Regions from separate parts of the Homo sapiens genome. Here region 1 is linked to region 2. Evidence: promoter capture Hi-C in human tissues and cell types (Jung and others, 2019). All regions are on one chromosome and are shown on one strand. The core of a region is centred on a gene start or on the middle of the fragment in contact, and the rest is flanking DNA. Distances in the headings are between cores, read along the strand shown.

What was found. The method cuts DNA at HindIII sites, captures the fragments that hold promoters and counts their contacts. A contact is called where the count stands out against the background at its distance.
Region 1: a fragment that was not itself captured here is called in contact with the fragment with the promoter of RANBP3L in region 2 in 1 of the 25 tissues and cell types used here (mesenchymal stem cells).

The regions. Positions count from the first base shown.
Region 1 is chr5:36,166,930-36,172,120 of GRCh38, forward strand. It overlaps SKP2 (S-phase kinase associated protein 2), which reads left to right. Exons shown (of 10, transcript NM_005983.4): 5 at 1,384-1,518; 6 at 3,415-3,513; 7 at 4,674-4,804. Among named protein-coding and RNA genes, the nearest start is that of SKP2, 17 kb to the left of the region's middle. The HindIII fragment of the contact is 5,640 bases long and covers 1-4,854 here.
Region 2 is chr5:36,299,026-36,304,911 of GRCh38, forward strand. RANBP3L (RAN binding protein 3 like) reads right to left here and starts at 2,877. Exons shown (of 14, transcript NM_145000.5): 1 at 2,301-2,877. The coding sequence starts at 2,391. All of the region lies in intron 1 of LOC124900962 (a long non-coding RNA gene), which reads left to right. The HindIII fragment of the contact is 10,640 bases long and covers 506-5,886 here.

The DNA of each region.
Region 1 (5,191 bases), core at 785-3,284, 130 kb before region 2:
TGATAGGGGGACTGTGAGTCCCACAAGGCAGGCACAAGTAAAGCACTCACTGGCAGATGCAAGGGTGCCCAGTTACTTCCCCAATGCCCATTTCTGATAAATAAAAAAAAGTGAGGAGTCTTTTCATGTTTGTAGCTTGGGGTTTATGATTTTTGTCTTGGAGAAATTTGGAACCTGAAAAAAATGCCCTCTTTTTGTTTGTTTTGTAGAATATTTTGAAAAAGAATTTTCTGTTCTGATAATTTTGCAATACTGAGGTTACTGCTATCACATAGTAGAATAACTAGGTACTGAACAGAAAAACAAGCTGAAGACAACAAAGCTAAAGATAAAACATGTCTCCTGACTCCAGTACTTTTTCCCTTCTTTCCGTAGTCAGGACCGCCTCTCCCACTGCTTTTTATCCTGTTCCTCCTGTGGCTGTTCCTTCTCAGTCTCCTTCACATATGTGATTTCCTCTGTTCACTCCAGGGTCGGTTCCTGGCTGCCACCTTTTTCAAATCCAAATGCTGTCCCTGGACAAGCTGTGTCCTCTACACCCACATTTATGCCCAGGACTCTCAGTTCCTCATCTATAGCTTGGCCCTCCCTTTCAAATTCCCAAATTTCTAATTACCTAAAAACGTCTGTACCTGAATTTCTTACAAGGACTTCAATATTAGCATAACTCAAATTTGGCCTCCCTTTTTTTTTATTGTTTTTGTTTTTTGAGACGGAGTCTTGCTGTGTCACCCAGGCTGGAGTGCAGTGGCGTGATCTCGGCTCATTGCAACCTCTGCCTGCCAGGTTCAAGCAATTCTGCCTCAGCCTCTCGAGCACCTGGGGACTACAGGTGTGCGCCACCACGCCCAACTAATTTTTTGTATTTTTAGTAGAGACTGGGTTTCACCATGCTGGCCAGGCTGGTCTTGATATCCTGACATCGTGATCCACTGGACTCAGCCTTTCAAAGTGTTGTGATTACAGGCGTGAGCCACTGCGCCCAGCCTGGTCTCCCTTTAAAACTTTCTCTTCCGCTACCTTCCCTGTTCTATTGCTGCTCACCCACTCACCCCTGCCAGAAACCAGGAGCCGTTATGGTCTTAATCTCCTTGTCACCCACATCCAGCTCATTGTTGTGATGCCCACTCGTTATTTTCTAAGTGGGACTATATTGGCAGCAACATCTGTACTTGGCAAAAATCCTCTTGCATTTTAAAATGAATGAAGATGGGAATACACTAGTAGCAATATGTTTTATGACCCTATAGTTAATGCTTGAAGTATGTATTTAGAGTCTTGTTTGTGATTGGCTGCTCATTTGGGGAGAAGAGGGGTCTGGTTTGAAATTGGATGTACCCGTGAGAGCCACCTATGGAGCTCCTTTTTTCTCTCCGTGTTTAGCCCTTTTCGTGTACAGCACATGGACCTATCGAACTCAGTTATAGAAGTGTCCACCCTCCACGGCATACTGTCTCAGTGTTCCAAGTTGCAGAATCTAAGCCTGGAAGGCCTGCGGCTTTCGGATCCCATTGTCAAGTGAGTGGCAGGCAGAGTGTCACAAAGGCAGTTGATTTTATGTGTATGAATTTTTTTCCCTGTATATAACTGGGGTGCCCTTCTAGCCATATCCAGGTGGATACAGAAAATATCTAGTGCAGTGCTCTAGCTTCTGCAAAACTTTTCAGGACTCATTGAAGCAACAAAAGCTTGAATGCTAACTATATGCCAGGCCCTGTGCTAGGTTCTAGAGATACAAGTACAAGGATGAACAATGCATGTGTATTATTTGGGAAGAAAATGAATGCTCTAAAACTTTTCCCACCTTGTTAGTGAATGCTGGTTAAGCTATAGTTTACCTTCTTGCAAGAGGAAACATTGAGCAAGACATGTCTATTTTCTCTTGCAAGAAGGTAAACTATTTATGAGCAAGACAGATAATTACCATGCAGTGTGTTTATTAAATGTTTCAGTGAATATGTGGCAACACACGAGGAGCCGCCTTGTTAGAGGAAGTGACTCTTGAGTATTGAAGATATCTAGGTAGGAGATCTCTAGGTAATAAGACAAAGCAACCAGTCTAGGTAAAACTTCCTGTGTGGTTCTAAACTCTTACGTAGTTGGAAGTTGCTGGAGCACAGGACTAAGGGAGGAGAGTGACAAGGTGAGGAGAGTCAGGGACCAGATTGTAATGGGCCCCTACGCCTTGCTGTAAGAAGAATGGACTGGACTCTTCCATTAAGAGGGAAGCATGGGCCAGGTGTGGTGGCTCACACCTGTAATCCCAGCACTTTGGGAGGCTAAGGTGGGCAGATCACCTGAGGTTGGGAGTTTGAGACCAGCCTGGCCAACATGGTGAAATCCTGTCTCTACTAAAAATACAAAAATTAGCTGGGTGTGGTGGCAGGCACCTGTAATCCCAGCTACTCAGGAGGCTGAGGCAGGAGAATCGCTTGAACCCGGGAGGCGGAGGTTGCCATGAGCTGAGACCACAACATTGCACTCCAGCCTAGGTGACAAGAGCAAAACTCCATCTGAAAAAAAAATAAAAAAAGGGAAGGATGGTGGAGAGAGTTGTTCTGAGAATGGAAGGAACAAGTCAAGAGTTGAAATTTAGGAAATTAACTTGCCAGGTACCATGGAGGGTCCATCGAGGATAGAAGAAGCTAGAGTAGTTAAGGATACTGCTGTGTTCGTTCAAGTGAGAAAAGGTGAAGTCTGATATAAAACAGATAGCAGTAATAGCAGCTAATGTTTTGGGGCATGTATTATGTGCCAGATAGTGAATTTTGTAAATGCATTTTCATTTAATTCTGACAGCAACCCTATGAAGTGTGATCTTGTTTCCTTTTTATAGTTGTGGAAACTGAGACACAGGGAGACTGAGTAAGTCTTTTCCAGGGTCACATTGTTAGTAGGTGGCTGAACCAACATGTGAACCTAGTGATACAATATTCCAGAATTCTTACTCTTAATCACTAAGTTTTACTAACACAGGGCATTTGGGGATGTATTAGAGAAGATGGCAAATTTGAGAGATGTATAATCAAAAGAACCTGGTGATTTTACAAGTAGATGTTTGCAAGCTAATTCTAATTATGGGTGAAATGGATATATGTTTATTCCATTGTCTTTTTAATTCAAAAAGTACATTGATTGATATTCTTGTGTATTTGCTTCATAGTAAGTCTTTTATTACATTATATCATTTAATCTTCTTAATAACTCTGCCAAGAAGTTTGATAATACCATTTCACAAATGAGTAAACTGAGGCAAATTATCCTGTTTGATGTCTGAGAGATAGTGATATACATTTTAAACTCACTGACTCAAAGACCTGTGAGCTTAACTACACTCGCCTGCTTTCATCTAAATGTTGTTGATGAATAGTGTCTTACTGGTCTTTTTCTTCTGACGTTTTTCTCTTTTTCCAGTACTCTCGCAAAAAACTCAAATTTAGTGCGACTTAACCTTTCTGGGTGTTCTGGATTCTCTGAATTTGCCCTGCAGACTTTGCTAAGCAGCTGTTCCAGGTATGAAAGATGTGAGACTTGATTATAGACTCTTATGTCAAACGTAAAATTATCCCTCACATCTGTATAAAATGGGATGAACTTTTTGAGCTTTTTGTACTTTCCAGGCTCTTGATTTGGTGAATGCAAAATCTTTTGCCCTCCTAACTTTCTGTCCAAACTCAGGAGCCAAGTCAATTGAGTTTGCAAGTGATACTTGTATAGTGATCTCTTTTTTGTTTATTTGGAACTGTTAAAATAAGGGAAGTGTAGTAGTGTCTATCAACAGTATGGTTGTAAGAAATTTGCTCACACTTAACTGTACATTCAGGTTTTTTCCCCTATGGTATCTGTAGACCTAACTTACAATTTTTTATCAAATTTGGTGTTTTATAAATATAGACCGTAAATTTGGGCAATTCTATTAACAATATCTTTCATAATAATGTCAGCACATAAAGGGTACAGAGTTACAGATATTGCTAAGTGAGGGGAGTACATGCTTTTTGGAATACACAGTACTAGGCATATGTGTGTTTTTTAAAAATATCCCTTGGTCTCCATGGTACAGCATTTGAATCTGTGTCTTGTTAATGGTCCATTTAAAATAGATTGCCTCTGGATATGCGTGTTATCAGTGAGATCAAATGTATAGCCCTATATTTAGTCAGCAGTGCCAGAAGTGGGGAGTGGGGATTAATGGTTGTATTTTGTCTCTGAAACCCTCGTTTTTGCTCAGTTAGCAGAAGCACAGTAAGACGAAGTGGCTTTTTGCAATATCAGCATCTCTTTATTAGGAATCCTCAGTGCAATCCATCAATTGCGTAAAACATCCTGAGTGATTGTTCAGTCTGTGTTGGGTGGTTGGTAGTTTGAGAAAGCAAACATAAAAGACTGGCATTTCTACCTGCAGTACTGGAATAAGGTTTGAGCCATCAGGTGCTTCTCTCCATTTCGAGGAGGAGGCACATTCACTAAGGCCCTTCTGATCCCCTGGCAACTTTCAGGGGCAAACAGGGTATACTTAGGTGACTAAAGGTAGCTACTGTTAGAGAAGCAGGTGTTCTGTGCATGAAATGATAAGGAATCCATGGTTTTATATTTTCTTTGTTTGCAGTTTGAGGCAAACTCATTCCCGTGTGATGGTTTCATATTTTGTTTATTACCCCTCTTTTGTGCAGACTGGATGAGCTGAACCTCTCCTGGTGTTTTGATTTCACTGAAAAGCATGTACAGGTGGCTGTTGCGCATGTGTCAGAGACCATCACCCAGCTGAATCTTAGCGGCTACAGAAAGAATCTCCAGAAATCAGGTTAGAGCTTCCAAGCCTGGACCACTGAGGCCTTCACAACATAATAGATGAGATTCATTGAGCTTCTCCTAATCATTCCTCCACATAAGTTTTCTCATTTAATCCAGTGCATGTGTTAGTCCCCTTTTTCAGATGAGGTAGCTGCTAATCAGAATGGTTAGGTAAAGGTAAACAGCTAGTGAGCTAGAGCCAAGGTTTGAATTCAGGATCTAACAGTAGAAACCTTTACACTTGAAAACAATGTATTTTTAAGCAGAAAAACTTTTAATCAACTAAATGGTTAGGTAAACCCCAACATAAAAATACATAAATGTAGCATTTGATTAGTATTAAGTAGTGGTTGTTCATTAGGGGCTATTTTGTCTGTACGGGGACATTTGTCAATGT
Region 2 (5,886 bases), core at 1,627-4,126:
TCCACCCTTAATCTAGTGGGCACAATCTAATCAGCTGCCAGCAAATACAAAGCAGGCAAAAAAACGTGAAAAGGTGACTGGCCTAGCCTCCCAGCCTACATCTTTCTCTCTTGCTATTTGTCCTTGAACATTGGATTCCAAGTTCTTCAGTTTTGGGAGTCAGACTGGCTCTCCTTGCTCCTCAGTTTGCAGACAGCCTATTGTGGGACCTTGTGACTGTGTAAGTTAATACTTAATAAACTCATCTTTATATACATATACACACATATATACACATACGTATATCTGTATATATATACACATACATATATGTGTGTGTGTGTGTGTGTGTGTGTGTGTGTATATATCCTATTAGTTCTGTCCCTCTAGAGAACTTTGATTAATACAGCCAGTAAAGGAGAGATCTTCAGGATAGCCTGGCTTAAAACAATAGTGGGGTATTATTTTTCACCTATAAAATTGAGAAGGAGTTTAAAAAATAATAGTATTACTGAGAACATACCCCAACACTGCTGATAGGAGGGTCACTTGGCCAAAAACAATTTTTAAGAATGTATAATCCTTTGACTCCACAATTTCACTTCTAAGAATTTATGCGAAGAAAATAATCCCATATCAGTGCAAAGATCTATTCATTAGTTTAGGTGCAGTCCAGTGTTAATTATAATAGTTAAAATATTAGAAATAAATAATATATCTAACAGTAGAGAATTGCCTAAGGGAATTTTGCTACATCCATATAAAGGAACAGTGTGCAACTGTTAAAAATAAGGTTGTAGAAGAATATTTAATGACCTGGAAATTTGTTCATCCTCTGTCATTAAATTAAAAAGCAGTTTACAAAACACTGTTTACAAAAGTATCCAGAACAAGTCTATATTGTTTAAAAAGCAAGCAAAGGAATAATCCATACAAGTGCATAGAAGAAAAGTCTAGAAGTTTATACATTAAAATGTTAATAGCAATTATCTTTGGGTGGTGGGGTTACAGGTGACTTCTTTAGGCTCACCCCCACCAAATTTTCTATTAAAATTATCATATTAGCAATTGAAGTGGGGGGAAGTCACTTTAACATTTCATACAAAGTCAACAGAAAACAAAAACCTCTGATAAACTAGAATTGTTTACTAACAGAGAAGCAAGAGCATTTTACAGTGCTATGCCTTAACCCTGACACATTCCAGGACTTTACATTCTAGGGTACTTGGTTCAAAATTTATTTGAGCACTAGTAGTAAAGCATGGTCTAAAAGTTCACATTGTTTTCATTTACCATGAAGTATTTTCTGCCGACACTATGCTAAGCCTTGTAGAGCATGAAGTCATGTTATACAGCTCCAGGAACCGATGCAGAGAGGTGGCCTGACACATTCATGTGACTGTTAGCACACAGATTCCATCTTGGAAATGGGAGGTTTTGGCCCTTTAGCCAACACTCTCCACACCACTGAAATCTAAAACTGCGTCTACAGAAAAATAATTAAAGAGCTCATTGCCTAGACCTACACATAAAAAGATCTATCCTAGGTTATTGAGGAGAAGTTAGAAGTGTCTGGTGAATCCTTAACCTCTGTGGAGTGATGATGTCATCCATGAGAGACCCAGCCTTTCCCACAAGTGTCATTTGCTGTCCCTGACAGGGTGGATTGGAGGGATCATCTTGTCTATTCATGTCAACCATCTGACACTAACTCAGCTGGCTGGAGAGTGGATTTGAAAATTTAAAAAGACTGATGGTGAAAATGGCTGGGAGGTAGATAGTTTAGTTTGAATGAGTGCCCAGCAAGTGAAATGTGACACTTTTCCCTGACTGTCTCCAGATGTCCCTGGACCATAAAAAGGAAAGAGTCAAGAATATATTTATTTTTCCCACAATGAATGAGCCAGAGATCCAGACAAACTTAGGCTTAAACAAAGTGAAAAAAGTGTCCCACCAGTGGTACTATGGTAGAGAAAGCTCCAGGCTAACTTAAAGCTACTCTCAGCTGAAATCCCCCTTGTAGCTGACTCAGCCTTGCTCAGATGGGTGTTTTGAATTAGACAAAATCTAGCATACTCTAAAAAACACAGTGGCTAGAAGTTTAAGCATGTAAGTTTCAGAATGACAGCTCCAAGGAATATGCATTCTTGACAGTCTTCCATAGTCCTCTAAAAATCAATAGTGAATCCAAGTTAACCCACCCTTATGCATCACTATTATGTCAGAGCTTCCCCGGGTCCTTCACCAGCCCACCATTCTTCCTGGAATGCAAATGCACAGAAGGTCACAGAATATGCAACTCATGAGCTGGACGGACTCACCTTGCTGTCGCCGGTCCTCCTGCAGCTTCAGTTTACAGGTGTGCAAACTGCCAGGCAGGTGGCTGCTGCCTTTTCTTGGTATGGTAGTCATGGTCCTAGCAGTATGGCTGTGACTCAAGGATCACTAGGGCACCTCCTTCTCTGGCCAGTCACCTAAAGTGGCCTTCACCAGACACCCAGAAATACATAGATTCATGCAGATCTTGTCTTTGCATGTACAACATATACTCCTCTACTAAACTTCCAAGCTTTTTCCAGTCATGATTCTTGAAATAAATAATCACCAATGTTACTTCTCCTAAATATAAAGATGCCAATTCATTTGGTTAAAAACACAACTTAATTCCTTCATTTCAAAACAAATTGAAACTAAACCTCCTTATAGAGTAAAATTCTACAAATTAACTATTTCTAACAGATTACACTTTTGTCATTTTTAAATTCCTTTTGGCGACATGAAATCCAATGCCTCCAGTATTTAGAGAAGGCTGCTAAAATAATACAGACACAAAGAAAAGAAAAAGTGCTGCTGAGTTAAGTCAAGTGATTTCTAAGCCTGATCTGAGTTACCCTCTGTGACAGCTGAAAGTGTACAGTTCTTAAGGGACTCTGGAAGGAGGAGGAGCAAAGTGGGCTAGGATGATTAGCATAAAGAGGCAGGCAAGACGGGCATTGGAGCTGCTTTGAATAATAGTGAACAAAGCACAGATTCTAAAGATGCCCTGCCCTTATGTTACAGTAACTGAGTACCTGATTTCTGCTACTTTGTTTGTAATTAAAATGCAAGCTGAAAGCAGGAGTTTATACTGCAAGGACATTCATTTGTGCATGTGAAATCTAAAAGGTATAAATGGAACTGGTAATGAGCTCATGGAAATGTACTGCTGGAACTTTCAATTTCTGTAAACACCTCCTAGTCTTCGGAAGGGAGCAGTTAGAGGGCAGCCTTCCTGCCAAGGCAACTATTTGGAGTTCTGGAAGAAAAATAAACACACAAAACATTATCTTTCCAGAGTCCTATTTCTGTTTCCCACTTAGAGTTCTTATTGCTACTTCTAGGTCATAGGAGAAAGTAATTTCCAGTTTTACTCGTTGGCTATTTCCTTACTGTTTGGAAACATAAACCCCAAACACCATTAATTTAACTTGAGAGCTTGCCATAACTGAAGTCATAATGAATGCTGGTAGGTCCTGCCCTTCAAGAGTCACAGCTCTTCGCAGATTCAGAAAGAAGGTAGTGGGCAGGACTAAGGAGAAAGGCAGAGCTGTTTAGCCTCGAAGTCTGGACTCTGCAGCTTCTTATGTGCATTTGGAAATTGGTGTTAAACTTGACACTGTAATGAATTTACCTCCTAACCAGATCTGGGTGGCTGCCCTCATTTTACTTTGAGGCAATTAACAATTCCCCAAGTATAGTCTGGTTTATGAAAATTTTTATGAAGTAGGTGATTGATCTTTTATAATTCTTGAATGCTTTAATTGTTTCAGTAGTCTATCTACTGCAGTTTTAGGCTAATCACAGTGTAACAGATGACAGAAGTGTTGTGCTACTTTGAAAGAGAGTCTTGTTATTGGAGAGTCATAGTTTCTACTTTAAATGTCTGCTATTCATCTCATCTTCCACAAAAGCCATGGTGGAGAGACAAGGTGATTTTTCCTGAATATGTAAAGTTATTGTTATTCTATCAAGTTATGTACCTCACTAATAAGCATATTATTATACAGGTAAGTTAAATAACCTACAAAACTGTAAGCCAGCCCTTTTGAGAAATACATTTAAAATGTTTTATGATGAAAAAATTTAAAAATACATGAATAGGAGAGAATAGCACAATAAGCCCTGCATACTCATCACTTGGCTTCAATATTATCAACTCATAGACAATCGTGTCTTAAAACTATGTGTTTCATTATAGCTGTTCTCCCCCTTATTACACCACTGGAGTTGAAGCATCCAGACATCATTGCATTAATAAATATTTCAGTGTATATTTCTAAAATGTGAGGATTTAAAAATAGATAACCATAATAAGATAGTCACGCACATAACAATTAAATATGATTATTTGATGTAATTAAGCATCCACACAGTGTTCTTATTTTCCTGATTGTCTCATAAACTTTTTTATCTTTACATTTTTTGCAAATTGGGACCCAAAGGTCCACACATTGTATTTGGTTGATATGTTTCTCAAGTCTTTTTTAATCTATAGGTTCATCTCAGAGAGAAATGTTGCTTGGAGATGAACATCTACACTTACCCTAATTTATGTCTGATTTTTTCAAGGAAGCCCCCTAGATGCCTCCATTTTTCTTACTCAGGAAAAAAAGAGAAAAAAAAAGGGTGGTCATCTGGCCATGGAGGCTAAGACATCCAGCTTTCTTGCCATGGTGTTCTCATTCATATACAGTGCAACCTTGACCCAGCCACTTAACATTTCTGGGTTTGTGTCTTCATTTAGCATATGAAACAAATGTTTGCTAAGCAATGGGATAAATTATTCAACACTCATTCTATGGATATAAAGGCCTGGGAAAGGGAGGAGTATCCTACTTTGTCTCTGACTAGAGCCTAAGGAGAAAGAAATAGATTTAAAACTAAAATCTGGGTAGGATTTAGGGGTATATTTGAAAATCTAGTCCCTCAGTTTTCAAACTTAGCTAAGAATCATAATTACCTAGGCCATATTGTAAAGATGTAGATTCCCGAGCCCCAACTGCACAGTCTGATGCCTAAGGTGCAATCTGGAATCTATATATTTTTATAAGTCCTCTAGTCTAAATAAACAAGCATTATCTGCTTAAACGGAGCTGGTTTGTTCCACTATTTCATTCATTACATCTTTCTTGAGGGCCGAAGAAACCAAACCCTCCTTAAACAGTAATTTCAAGTGCCACAACGTAAGGGGACAGGGAGGATACAAAGGAATGCTACTGGTTCCTCTTTCGTGCATCAACGAGGCAGTCCCAGGCAGTGGCCTTGTGAGGGATTAGCTGAGTCAAGGGAATCCTGGGTTCCTACACTGCCTGTTAAGTTCCATTGCTGTTCTCGAAGGAGTCTCTGGTTTGATTTACCAGTTTCCACTGGAAATCATCCAGCATGGCAGAAAGCAGCACGTTACAGGAGTACATAAGATAACCTCAGATATATCAGCTACAGTGGGATGGGGGACTACTTTGCTTCCCCCTTTCCCCACTTACTTTCCAGAAACATCACCAAATTAGTTCACAGTGGGCATATTGTTCCTTTTTTTTGCATAAATGAAAACAAGAAATCAGATTGCAGAAGTCTGGCTGGGTCAAGAAAGAGGTGAATCATCTTTGGCATTTTTACTTACAATTGATTAAAAATGAATTTGAATCCTATAAAGGCCAAACTTCTTCCCTTATCAAGTCTCTGTGATCCCCACAAAAGGATACCACTGGTTTCCTTTTCCTGGGGTTTTCCTTATCTGCCATATCTTCTCTGCTTAACCTGTGTCTTTGTACTTCCGGAAGAGTAGAGTGAAATGGCGCATCACAGATAATCAATCATACCAGCTGGCACTTTGGGGGTCGATACTTCAAAAAATTGATATTTTATTGC